Regions from separate parts of the Homo sapiens genome. Here region 2 is linked to region 1. The links are contacts of gene promoters, found by promoter capture Hi-C in human tissues and cell types (Jung and others, 2019). All regions are on one chromosome and are shown on one strand. Each heading gives the region's core, a stretch centred on a gene start or on the middle of the fragment in contact. The rest is flanking DNA. Distances are from core to core; before and after follow the strand shown.

Region 1 (6,183 bases), core at 2,733-5,232:
CCACCTGCTCACTCACCCAGCAGTTCCTATGCTCTCCCCTATACACATTCTTTCACCAGGAACCTCAGTTTCCTCAATTGCAGAACCAAAATAAGAATGGTCTTGATATCAGGAACTACTGTGAAGGGAAGTGATCTGAGGAGTACCTGGGCATGGAGACAGCACAATATAAGTCAGTTATCGTCATGGCCATTTCAGAGCTCTTTTTCCAGTAAAGCCCCTGGATGCTGCTCGCCTCTGCTATGTAGCCTCACTCCCCTGCAGCCGGGCAGAATGGAGTCCCCCTCCTCTCCAGCCTGACTTCTCCTCCCCTGCTCCGCGTCCCCAGGGCAGCGTGCACCGATAAATCTTTCCCAGCGCGTTGCATTGTTACAGCGAGTTGCCCTCGCATCCGACCGGCCCCCCGCCCCACCTCTGGAGATCTTCAAACCCAGGATCTGTGCCTTGGTCGTCTTTGAAGCCCCGGCCCCTGGCACAGCGCCTGGCACCTGGAGGGCGCTCAATAAATGTTTGCAAAATCGAATTCTCTGTTGAGCAGGTGTCCACCCCTCCACTCGCGGAGGGTGGGTTGCGCGGGCGGAAGGGAAGTCTGGCTGTGTGCCAGGGTGCGGGGGGACACAGGCAGGGGACTCAGGGAGCGGGAGAGCGGGAGCGGGTACGACGCCGGCTAGCGGAGCCCGGCCCGGAGGGTGCGGCGGTGCCAGACGCGGAGGGCGGCCTCCGCTCCTCCCCCGCCTCCTCCCCGCGCCGCGCCTCCTCCCCGCGCCGCGCCTCCTCAGGCTCCGCCACCCCCGCCCGGCGCGGCAGCCGCAGGGAGGGGTCCGGGAAGGCGGAGCCAGCGGCGGCCCAGGCTCTGGGCACTCGCGCGGCTCCCGTTCGCGGAGCACACATCCCGGCGCGACGAGGTAGGAGGCCGCGAGGGGAACGGACGAGGGAGCTGGGCGCCGCGGCGGGAGGGGCGGGAGGCCGGGCCGAGACCCTCCTCCCGTGCTCCCGGACAGCCTCGCGGCCCACCGAGCCCACCGCGGGAGTCTCAACCCCGCCCCTCGGCCCCCGCCTCCCTCTTCCCGCGCCCGCCCCGCCGCGCGCCCCCCGCTCCCTGCTGCTCCGCGTCCTCCGGGACCGCCCTCCGAGGTCCCCCGGGGTCGCTGCTCCTGCGCCCAGTGCGCTCCTTGTTCTCCCACAGGTTCCTTCGGAGAGCGAGCGGGAGTCGGTGCTCGGCCTCCTGCGGGGAGCAGCCCGAGGGTGAGTCCGGCGTGGCGTGGCGGGGCGGGGCGGGGCGGAGGCTGGAGGGCCCGGGGCCGCTCTTACGCCTCTTAGTGGCACCGGGGCTCGGCGCTGCGGGCTGGCTCCATGTTTGCGGAATGAATCAGTCATGACTCTCCTTCTCCTCTTCCTAAGGAGGACTTTTTGAGGTCCACGTGCTGCAGAGCACCTTTGGAGGGCCTCATGAGATAGGGGTCCCCCCTCCTGCATAGTGGAAGCCCGACTCCCATTTCCCCCCCTCCTCTCTGCACTCCAGTCTGGAGGCTCCCTTTGGGTTGGGTCTTGGGGGGTCGGGGACAGGGGGCTTGTAGGCCCAGCCAGGTAGTTGTGGAAGGTGTGTCCCAGCAGGAGACTTGAGCCAGGGCTCTTAGAAGGTTGCAGTGGAGGGGGCGCGCTGCGGAGGACAGCTGACACTGTCAGGCAGGGTCACTTGGCACCTCCAAGGCCAGCCTGGAAGAGCCTGCTTGAATATGGATTTTGACCCACAGCTTACTGAAAGCTTCCACGCCGCTGTTTCTTCATCAATAAAATGGGAACATTCGCAGTCATTTCTCAGGACTTTGTGCAGACAAAAAGTTTATCATAGAAATCACCCCACACAATGCTTGGCACATCGAGGACACTCAGCACATCTTAGCTTTATTTCCTTCCTCTCTGAAAAAAGTAAGCAGAGTTATTTGTTCCCATCCTCTCTGTCCACAGCCTGGTCTCAGAGAACACAGTAGATGTGTAGTCAGTTTGTTCAATAAATATGCTTGATGGAGCTTCAATACCCACCTCCACCCCCTTCTCCCAGAATCTGCAGGGAGAGGTCGGGAGGTGACAACGCCAGCATGCCAGTGCTATCGGAGGACTCTGGTAAGTACCTCCCCCCGGCTGGACCTGCCACAGTCCTGAAGACAAGAGCCTGCCTGGCAGCCTCCAGGCCCTGGCAGTGAGAGCCTGGGGAGAGAATGTCCTCACGGCAGGACTGAAGTGCTGTTTGAGGCCCCACTCGGGCTCCTCGGGGGCAGGGAGCACCCACTGCGTTTGCTATCCTTTGTTTTTCTCACCTCTCCCCAGGTTTGCATGAAACCCTGGCCCTGCTGACCTCCCAGCTCAGACCTGACTCCAACCACAAGGAGGAGATGGGCTTCCTGAGGGATGTTTTCAGTGAAAAAAGCCTCAGTTACTTAATGAAGGTGAAGTCCCACGTCATCCTGCGTGGAAGGGTGTCTAGAGGTCTTTCTAGCTGTCTGTGGCCGTCTGAGGTCATCCTAGTCATCTCCCTGCCCCAGGAAGGCCTTCACTTGCCCACTACACAGGACTTTCTCTTATGGTGCCCTGTCAGTGGCCCAGTCTGCTGCCCCAAATGTCCCCACAGCCGTGGGTGGGATGTGTGGTGTCCAGGGTGCATCTGAAATACTCTGTCTTTGCAGATTCATGAGAAGCTTCGCTATTATGAAAGGCAAAGTCCAACCCCAGTTCTGCACAGCGCTGTGGCCCTCGCTGAGGACGTAAGCCCCAGGTTTCTCCTTACAGTGTCTGCCCCACTCCCCACCCTGTAGGGCTCCTTCATCTTGCCTCGCTTGCTTAGTGTGGGGACACCGGGAATCAGGAGCCCAAAGGTGAAGAGGTGTTTTCTTCCCTTGTCCTCCTCCTTCTCTTCCTCTCTCTGGGTTCCCCGAAAGGTAGGGAGGAACCCGTGAGCCTTGGACTGGGCTGGGAGACACTGTGACATGGAGCTGCCCACTTACTGTGTGTTCTTTAGCAAGTCTGCTTCCTCTGCTGTAAATGAGAGCATTGGATTGGCTCAGCAGTTCCCAAACTGCCCTGAGGACTGGTGATTTGAATAGGTCAATAAGACATTATGTCTGTGCTTTCCTGAAGTCAAGGGACCTACAGTGTGTCCCCGCATACTGGCTCAGGCTTCTCATTTTTTAAAGGAACGCTTCTTAATTTCTTGTGGACCTAGTCGTCTATGTTGCGTGGTTGGGGAAAACCCATTCTGGTTGATTACTAAGATCAGTTCCTGAATAAACTCACCTAACCCCAGGAGATGGCCTGGGGAGGGATGAGTGCAGCTTGTGGGTGCAGAGCCCTGGGCCCTTCTCCACTGTGGAATGTGATTAGGGGCACATTAGATTGCCTGGCTCCCAGGCTCAGCGCTGCCTGTCCCACCAGCTCTGTGATGTTAAGTAGGCCACTCAACCTCTCTGAGCTCCCATTTCCTCATTCATAAAATAGCATCTGAGAGCCAGATAAGCCCAGGTTCAAATCCTAGCTGTGCTGTATATGAGCTCTGTGACTTCGGGCAAAATGTTTAATCTCTTTGAGTCTCAGGATTCTCATCTGTAAAATGGCAAAGTAACAAGACCCTCTGCATCAAGTTGGTTGCGAGGGTTCAGTGAGAAGATCCACATAAAGCAGAAAGCACGTAGGGCTTAAAACGGTGGCTCCTTGGAGGATGGCCCCATAGAGCTGCTCCTGACCCCTGGTGTGATGTTCCCAGGATCATCGTCGTCGGGTGGTTGAGGGTCTGGTGTGCCCCTGGGGGCTGCAGCTGGGTGGGCCCTTCCAAAGAGGAAGGACCCAGCAGATATGGGGCAGGGGCACCTCTAGCCATCAGTGGCGCCTGTCTCATTCTCTGCAGGTGATGGAGGAGTTGCAGGCCGCCTCCGTGCACAGTGATGAGAGGGAGCTGCTCCAGCTGCTGTCCACCCCGCACCTGAGGGTAGTCACACAGAGCCCCTGCCCAGCCATGCCTCTGGGTCTCCTGGGATGGGGGCGGAGGGAGCTCTCCTAATGAGGCTGAGGAGTGGAGACTGAGGGAGCGATCCTCAGCACTAGTGTCTGGGCAGTTGTCTCTCTGGCATGGCGTCTGCCACCCTCCATACCACCGGCCAGCTGCGGCCTGCTGACCCTGTGAGCGGCGGGCCAGCCTTCCTTTTCTCTGGCTTTCCCGGCAGGCTGTGCTCATGGTACATGACACGGTTGCCCAGAAGAATTTTGACCCCGTTCTCCCGCCTCTGCCTGACAATATCGATGAGGATTTTGATGAGGAATCGGTGAAGATCGTCCGCTTGGTGAAGAACAAGGAACCCCTGGTAGGTGCTGCTGCCTGCCCCTCTCTAACCCACTCTTCCCCTGCCTCTCACCCCCACCCAGAACACTGGACAAGATCCTCCCCGAAGTCTTCAGAGTGAGTGACGGCAGCTTTGCCTGCGCTGCTGCTCATCCCTGTGGTGCCTCTGTGTGCAGGGCACCCCTTTCTCTAGGTGGATACAGCCCCTCTCAACTGTGGCCAACACCCTTTGTGTAGTTAATAACCTGCACAATTGTACAGGGTGACCCTGATCATGCTTTAAGCCAGAAATGGACAAACTACAGCCCAAGGGCCAAAACCAGCCCACAGCTTATTTTTTAAAATAAAGCTTTTTTGGAGCACAACCAGGCCCATTCACTTACAGATTGGCTGTGGCTGCCTTTATAGTGCGATGGCAGAGTTGAGTCGTTGTGACAGAGACTGTGTGGCTGGCCTCAAATATTTACATGTGGCCCCTTATAGAAAACGTGTGACAATGCCTGCTCTGAATGTTGAGGAAGCACAGGGCATTCCTCTCCCCAGCAGACAGACTGCTATCACTTTGGTCCTGGTTCAGCATTGATTTACCGAGCAAAGGGACAGCGTTGTTTATGAGATGCTCAGAAGTGGTGGAAGCCCAGAGAATTGAGATTGGCTCCAGAGGATCCCACAGCTGGCATTCTCTATTTCCAACTTTCCCCAAATGACCTCCGACGAGCCTCTTCTGCAAACAGACGAGGATCTCTCCTCTGCCTCTGTTTCCTCACTTGTAAAATGGAGTGGCCATCCATTGATTTAGCAAACACATTGTGAGCCCTCCTATCCAGGCTCTGTATTGGGTGCTGGCGGTTCAGAGCTGAATAAATGATGGATAGCGATGCTGGAAAGTTCTCAGTTCTGGGGGGCTAGAAGTCCTGAGGTTCTTAGCTGATGGCCTCTCTTTCTAGCAATAATTATCTTACGTACTTCAAATAGATGGCACAGATGATGTTAACAATAAGTGTGCAAATGTGTTTGCAGTTACAGCCACTAATAAGTGGTTAACATATGTTGAGTGCTTACTGTGTACTAAGTGCCTTGAGTGGAATCCTTGCAACAACACTGTGAGTTAAATGCTGTCCCACATCTCACAGGAAACAGGCTTGGAGAGGATAAGAGATTTCCTTGTTAAGTCCACATGCTTTTTGTAAACGGCAGAACTGTGTTCACACCCAAGGCTGTCCAGCCCTAGAGCTTAGCTCTTAAGCTTTCTGCCGTCCTGCTGCAGTCCGGCCTGTGTGGTGCAGGAAATCGAGGGCTCGTTAGTGCCTTTCTCATCCTAAGTGTCATCTCTGCTGTGCTTCATGGGCCAAGTCCTGGTCCCGAAGCCCTGGCTGGGGTGCATAATTGGTTTCCCTCAGCAGCAGCAGAAGGCCCGGTAACCCTGTGATTGGGTAGAGGCAGGGTGAGAATTAGCTGGCACGTGTCATCCTCATTATTAAATGTCTTTGCAAGTGGTAGGAACTGTGATATGAGAGAGATGTGATGGAGAACTTACTGGATTTGGCATCACAAAAAGCTTTCCCCTTTACCAGCTGGGTGACCTTGAGGATATTTAACTTCTCTGAGCCCCAGTCCCTCATCTAAAATGTTGCAGCATTATTGTGCCTTGTAAACTGTACAGTGCAGGGCTATATTAATGGGGGATGTTGGTTTTGTTTTGTCTTCAGCATTGGGAAGGTCCCCACTGATCTCTCTGGACTGTCAGAGGGAGGGACTGGGGAGGCTGTGTTGGGTCCAGAGAGTAGGGGTCTGAGGTTTGGAGCTGCTGCTTAAGAACCTGTCTCTTCTGTCTCGGGTTCAGGGTGCCACCA
Region 2 (4,427 bases), core at 359-2,858, 170 kb before region 1:
TGCTGTCGCGCAGGCCGCCTGTGTTATTGAGGAAGATGATTTTGGTGGGCCGCAGCGCCTTGGCCAGCGACGCGGTCACCTCCAGGGAGTCGAGAAGCACGGAGCGGCGCGCGGCCGTCTCCCCGATGGGGCACAGGATGGGGATGCTGCCCGACTCCAGGCACCACTGCAGCAGGTCTGTCTCCACCGAGACGATGCCGCCGTAGCTGTGGGCCAGACGTGGTGCTCGAGAGGGCCCCCTCCAGGCCTGCCGGACGGGGCAGGGCGGGCAGAGTAGCACGCTCTGAGGACGCCTGGGCGGGCAGGGCGGGCACTCACCTGGCATGGGGAGCCGGCTCGGCAGCGCGTAGCACAGACCCGCCGCCAAAAAATGGCACAGCAGCGGCGGCGTTGTGTCGAAGCGCGTCTACCAGCACCTTGCAGCTCTTGGCCAGCTGCGCCTTGGCCTCCCAGAAGGAAAGACAGCCCGAGGGAGCCGTAGGGGCCGGCAGCCCCAGGACCACCAGCGGCTTCATGTCCATGCGCTGCAAGAAGGCCAGGGCAAAGGCCAGACTGGATACGCCCTGCTGGCACTTGAGCACCTCCTCGTCCACCTGCGGAGGAGTGGGCTTTCAAGGAGCGTGACACGGACCTGAGCCGCTGGCTCCCACAGCCTGGCCTGCAGGGCCGTCTCGGTGACCCTACCCTTCCAGAAGCTGTCAGGACCCAGTTCTGGCCACCAGTGCCCACCTGCTCCGCCCTTTGCCCCGTTGGGTCTTGCCACTCCCTTGTCTCACGCTGGGGTACCTCCCGCCCTCCTCCCTCCGACCTTGGACTCCGGGACATCTTTGGGGGAGGGGCAGTGCAAGCGGCTCCTGTCCAGGTCCTTCTGAACCCCTAACTGCGCCCATGTTGGGGGCCTTCTTCAGAGCATCACACCTGGCGGGTGGGGTCCCCCAGGATCCTCACTCGGGCTGGGCGGGAGGCTTCCGGAGGAGCTTACGGCCTCTCCCATTCCCGGCGGCGCTGGTCTGGGCCCTGCCGGGCTCCTTCCCGCTTCCGCTGCGCAGAGCCCGCAGCGTATCCTGCCATGCCTGAGGACAGGTGGCCGCACAACCCCATCCCCTCGCTGCGTCACGGCCCACGCCGGGCTCCGCTCACCTCGATGACGGCGAAGGGCTTGTCCGCGGAGTGATGGCAGGTCTGGAACTGCGTGAGCCAGTGGCGCGCCTCCCCAGGGCTGGCCCCGCACTGGTTCAGGAAGGCCTGGATGTCCCGCTGCACCAGCGAGCGGCCCGAAGGAGGCTCTGGGGACTCGTGGGGCACCGGGGGCCTGGGACTCGGCACCCACGACGGCTCCTCGGCGACGGGCGACTGGGAGACGTCGTCCGCGCCCGCGTACTCCTCGGGCGGGGGCTGGGGCTGCGACCAGGCGGTGCTGAGCCGGCGCCCCGGGCTGGTGCCCCTCGCCGCCCGCCGCCGCGCGCCACAGCTCAGCCTTCGGGCGCCCCCAGTGCCTCCCCGGCCTCTCAGCCTCGGGGCTACAGCAGCTGCCCGCAGAACCACAGCCATCAGCGCCGTCGCCATGACGACAACCAACTCTTGCCCCCCAAGAGTGGCAGTCTGTCTGGAGCGTCTGGCACTGGGGGGCTCTTAACTTGCCGTTGGGCGGGGCTGGACCTGGTCGGGGCGGGGTCCGGACAGGGGACCAGGAGTCTCCTCTGGGTGCGTTTGAGGAGGGTCAGGCCATGAGTCAGGGGGCGGGGCCACTAGGCTCCCCCGCCCCTGGAGGAACTGAACCCACTATCGGTCATGGGGCCGAGACTAAATGTGGCGGGTTGTCTTTAATCTGCTGCCAAGGTAGGTTCCAGGGGCGGCTTTGGGAGTCTGCAGGGCCTTGGATGATTGGCATTCTGACCAGAGAAGAAGGGACTGTAGGTGGCTTTGAGCACAGGGCTGGGCAGGGGGCTGGAAGGAGGGCGCTGGAAAGAGTAGAAGAAGGGGGGCAGTGGGAGGGCGGGGGCGGGTGGTGCTGGCCTTGTCTGTCCTGTTGCCTGAGCTCAAAAAAGATCCTAATGAATGACCATGAGGTTACCAGGGTTTGCCAAACTCCAGTCACTGGGTACCAGCTTGAGGAATTCTGTGATATCCTCAAAACACCCCTCAAAACTTATAATACTTTAGTGTTAATGCTTTTCTTTATCGAATATCACATCTGGTAAAAATAAAATAAAATAGAGTTTTTTATTTTGGTTTTTGAGATAGGGTCTCACTCTGTTGTTGCCCAGGCTGCAGTACAGTGGTGCAATCATAGCTCACTGCAGCCTCCACCTCCCAGGTTCAAATGATCCTCCTGCCTCAGTCTCCCTAGTAGCTGGGACCACAAATGCACACCACCATGCCCAGCTGATTTAAAAAAAAATTATTTTTTTTGAAGACGGGTGTTCACCATGTTGCCCAGACTGTTCGTGAACTCCTGAGCTCAAGCAGTCCTCCCACTTCTGCCTCCCAAGGTGCTGGGATTACAGGTGTGAGCTACTTCACTCGACCTCTGTAACCCTTTTTTTTTTTTTTTTTTTTGTTTGTTTGTTTGTTTGAGATGGAGTCCCACCCTATTGCCCAGGCTGGAGTGCAGTGTTGCGATCTCGGCTCACTGTAATCCCCGCCTTCTGGGTTCAAGCGATTCTCCTGCCTCAGCCTCCTGAGTAGCAGGGATTACAGGCAGACACCATCACACCCGGCTAATCTTTGTATTTTTAGTAGAGACAGGGTTTCACCATGTTGGCCAGGATTGTCTCAAACTCCTGACCTCGTGATCCACCTGCCTCAGCCTCCCAAAGTGCTGGGATTACAGGCGTGAGCCACCACGCCCGGCCCTCTTTAACCTTTTTAAACTTAAAGTTTATCCATGTTAGGTCTGTAACTAGGCCAGTATCACTTGCCATAAGCCTTAAGAATCAAGTGAGGAGGCGGGTGGGTCATTTGAGGTCAGAAGTTCAAGACCAGCCTGGCCAACATGGTGAAACCCCATCTCTACTAAAAATACAAAAATTAGCCAGGCAGTAGTGGCATGTTTCTGTAATCCCAGCTACTCAGGAGGCCAGAGAATCACTTGAGCCTGGGAGGAGGAGATTGCGGTGAACTGAGACTGTGCCACTGCACTCCCGTCTGGGCGACAGAATGAGACCCTGTCTCAAAAAAATTAAAATTAAAATTAAAATCAAAATTAAAAAAGAATCAAGTGAGAGGAAAACAATGTTATTACATTCCATTATATTCCATCTGCATAGCTTGCCTGCTTTCTTGGTAACATGGAAGGTTAGCAGGTGCCATGTGTTAAAGATACCCTAGCACCAAGCAAAGCCTTCTGTGTGGTAGAGGAATAGCTAACACATGTCGAATGCTAGGCACTATGCAAAGGACTTCACAAATAGTCATTCATTTAATCCTCTCAGTGACTCCAGGATAGCTATTATCATTATTCCCATTTTACAGATGAGAAAATGGAGGTACAGAAATATGTGAGGATCAGGGTCACTCAGCTCACAAGCCGTGGAGCTGGTCTAGGAAGCAGTTCTGCTCCAGATCCATGCTGTTAAGCAAGTTTTGGAAAGGAGTTGAAAGGCTTGAAAACATTCACAGGATATGATTCAATGTTACTTCATACTGTGTCCATGTGCTGGGCACTGTCAGCTGCACACATCCTGCCCTTGGGTACACTCTGATCCAGTCAGACCCTCTGTTGTTGTAGAGGGGGAAAGAGGACCCTCTGTTGTTGTAGAGGGGAGGTGACCTGGCCAAGGTCACACAGCTCGTCAGTGGCATGGCCAGACCCTAAGCACCCTCAGTTCCTACCCCTGCTCCTCCCTGCTTTCTTGCACGTGGTTTTGTCTCCCCATGCTGGAGTCCTGACACCTGGGGCTCTGCCTTTTTGGGGAGCAGGGCTTGGGCTACTTCCCTCCTGAGGAGTCTCCAGGGGAGGCCGAGTGAGTGCGCTTACCCGTTTCTGGGATCTTCCCCGCAGTCCCCCACCCCTCGGACACACTGTCCCGGGGGGGAGACTCTGTAGTGGAAGGAGGGGCTGACATAGGACCTCCTCATTGAGTTTTTTTGTTTTCCCACTTAGAAATCTTGGGTTCCAAGGCAAAGCATGAAGCAATGGCGTGGAGGGGCTGCACCCCCTACCTGGTGGGGCCACCTCCAGGGCCTTCTTTCTCTTCCCTCTTTACTCTCAGGCCCGGCCACACACACACTTCTCAGAATCCACTGGAGGAGGAGGTCTTAGCCTCCAGGGGCATAATAGTTTTCCTCTCCAAACTCCTTCAACCCAAATGTGCTTCTCTTTCCCTAGGCTGCAAGGCCAGCTCTTCATCACAGCAGGCCACCCCTGCTGACCCCTCTCCACTCAGAATTCCTTCTTGTCTCTGTCCTCTTTGACTCAGACTGGG

Evidence for each region. The method cuts DNA at HindIII sites, captures the fragments that hold promoters and counts their contacts. A contact is called where the count stands out against the background at its distance.
Region 2: the fragment with the promoter of NAGS here is called in contact with a fragment that was not itself captured in region 1 in 3 of the 25 tissues and cell types used here (bladder, lymphoblastoid cells and mesenchymal stem cells).

What each region holds. Positions count from the first base shown.
Region 1 is chr17:43,827,823-43,834,005 of GRCh38, reverse strand. It overlaps MPP3 (MAGUK p55 scaffold protein 3), which reads left to right and starts at 860. Exons shown (of 20, transcript NM_001932.6): 1 at 860-905; 2 at 1,187-1,245; 3 at 2,063-2,124; 4 at 2,329-2,447; 5 at 2,685-2,762; 6 at 3,899-3,979; 7 at 4,215-4,352; 8 at 6,174-6,183. The coding sequence starts at 2,100. It overlaps LOC107984979 (a long non-coding RNA gene), which reads right to left and starts at 301. Exons shown (of 3, transcript XR_001753057.2): 1 at 17-301. RefSeq lists silencers at 731-830, 851-900. The HindIII fragment of the contact is 3,501 bases long and covers 2,232-5,732 here.
Region 2 is chr17:44,001,803-44,006,229 of GRCh38, reverse strand. It overlaps NAGS (N-acetylglutamate synthase), which reads right to left and starts at 1,608. Exons shown (of 7, transcript NM_153006.3): 1 at 1,141-1,608; 2 at 319-593; 3 at 1-206. The coding sequence starts at 1,566. It also overlaps a transcript of PYY not described here. RefSeq lists an enhancer at 1-685. The HindIII fragment of the contact is 21,260 bases long and covers 1-4,427 here.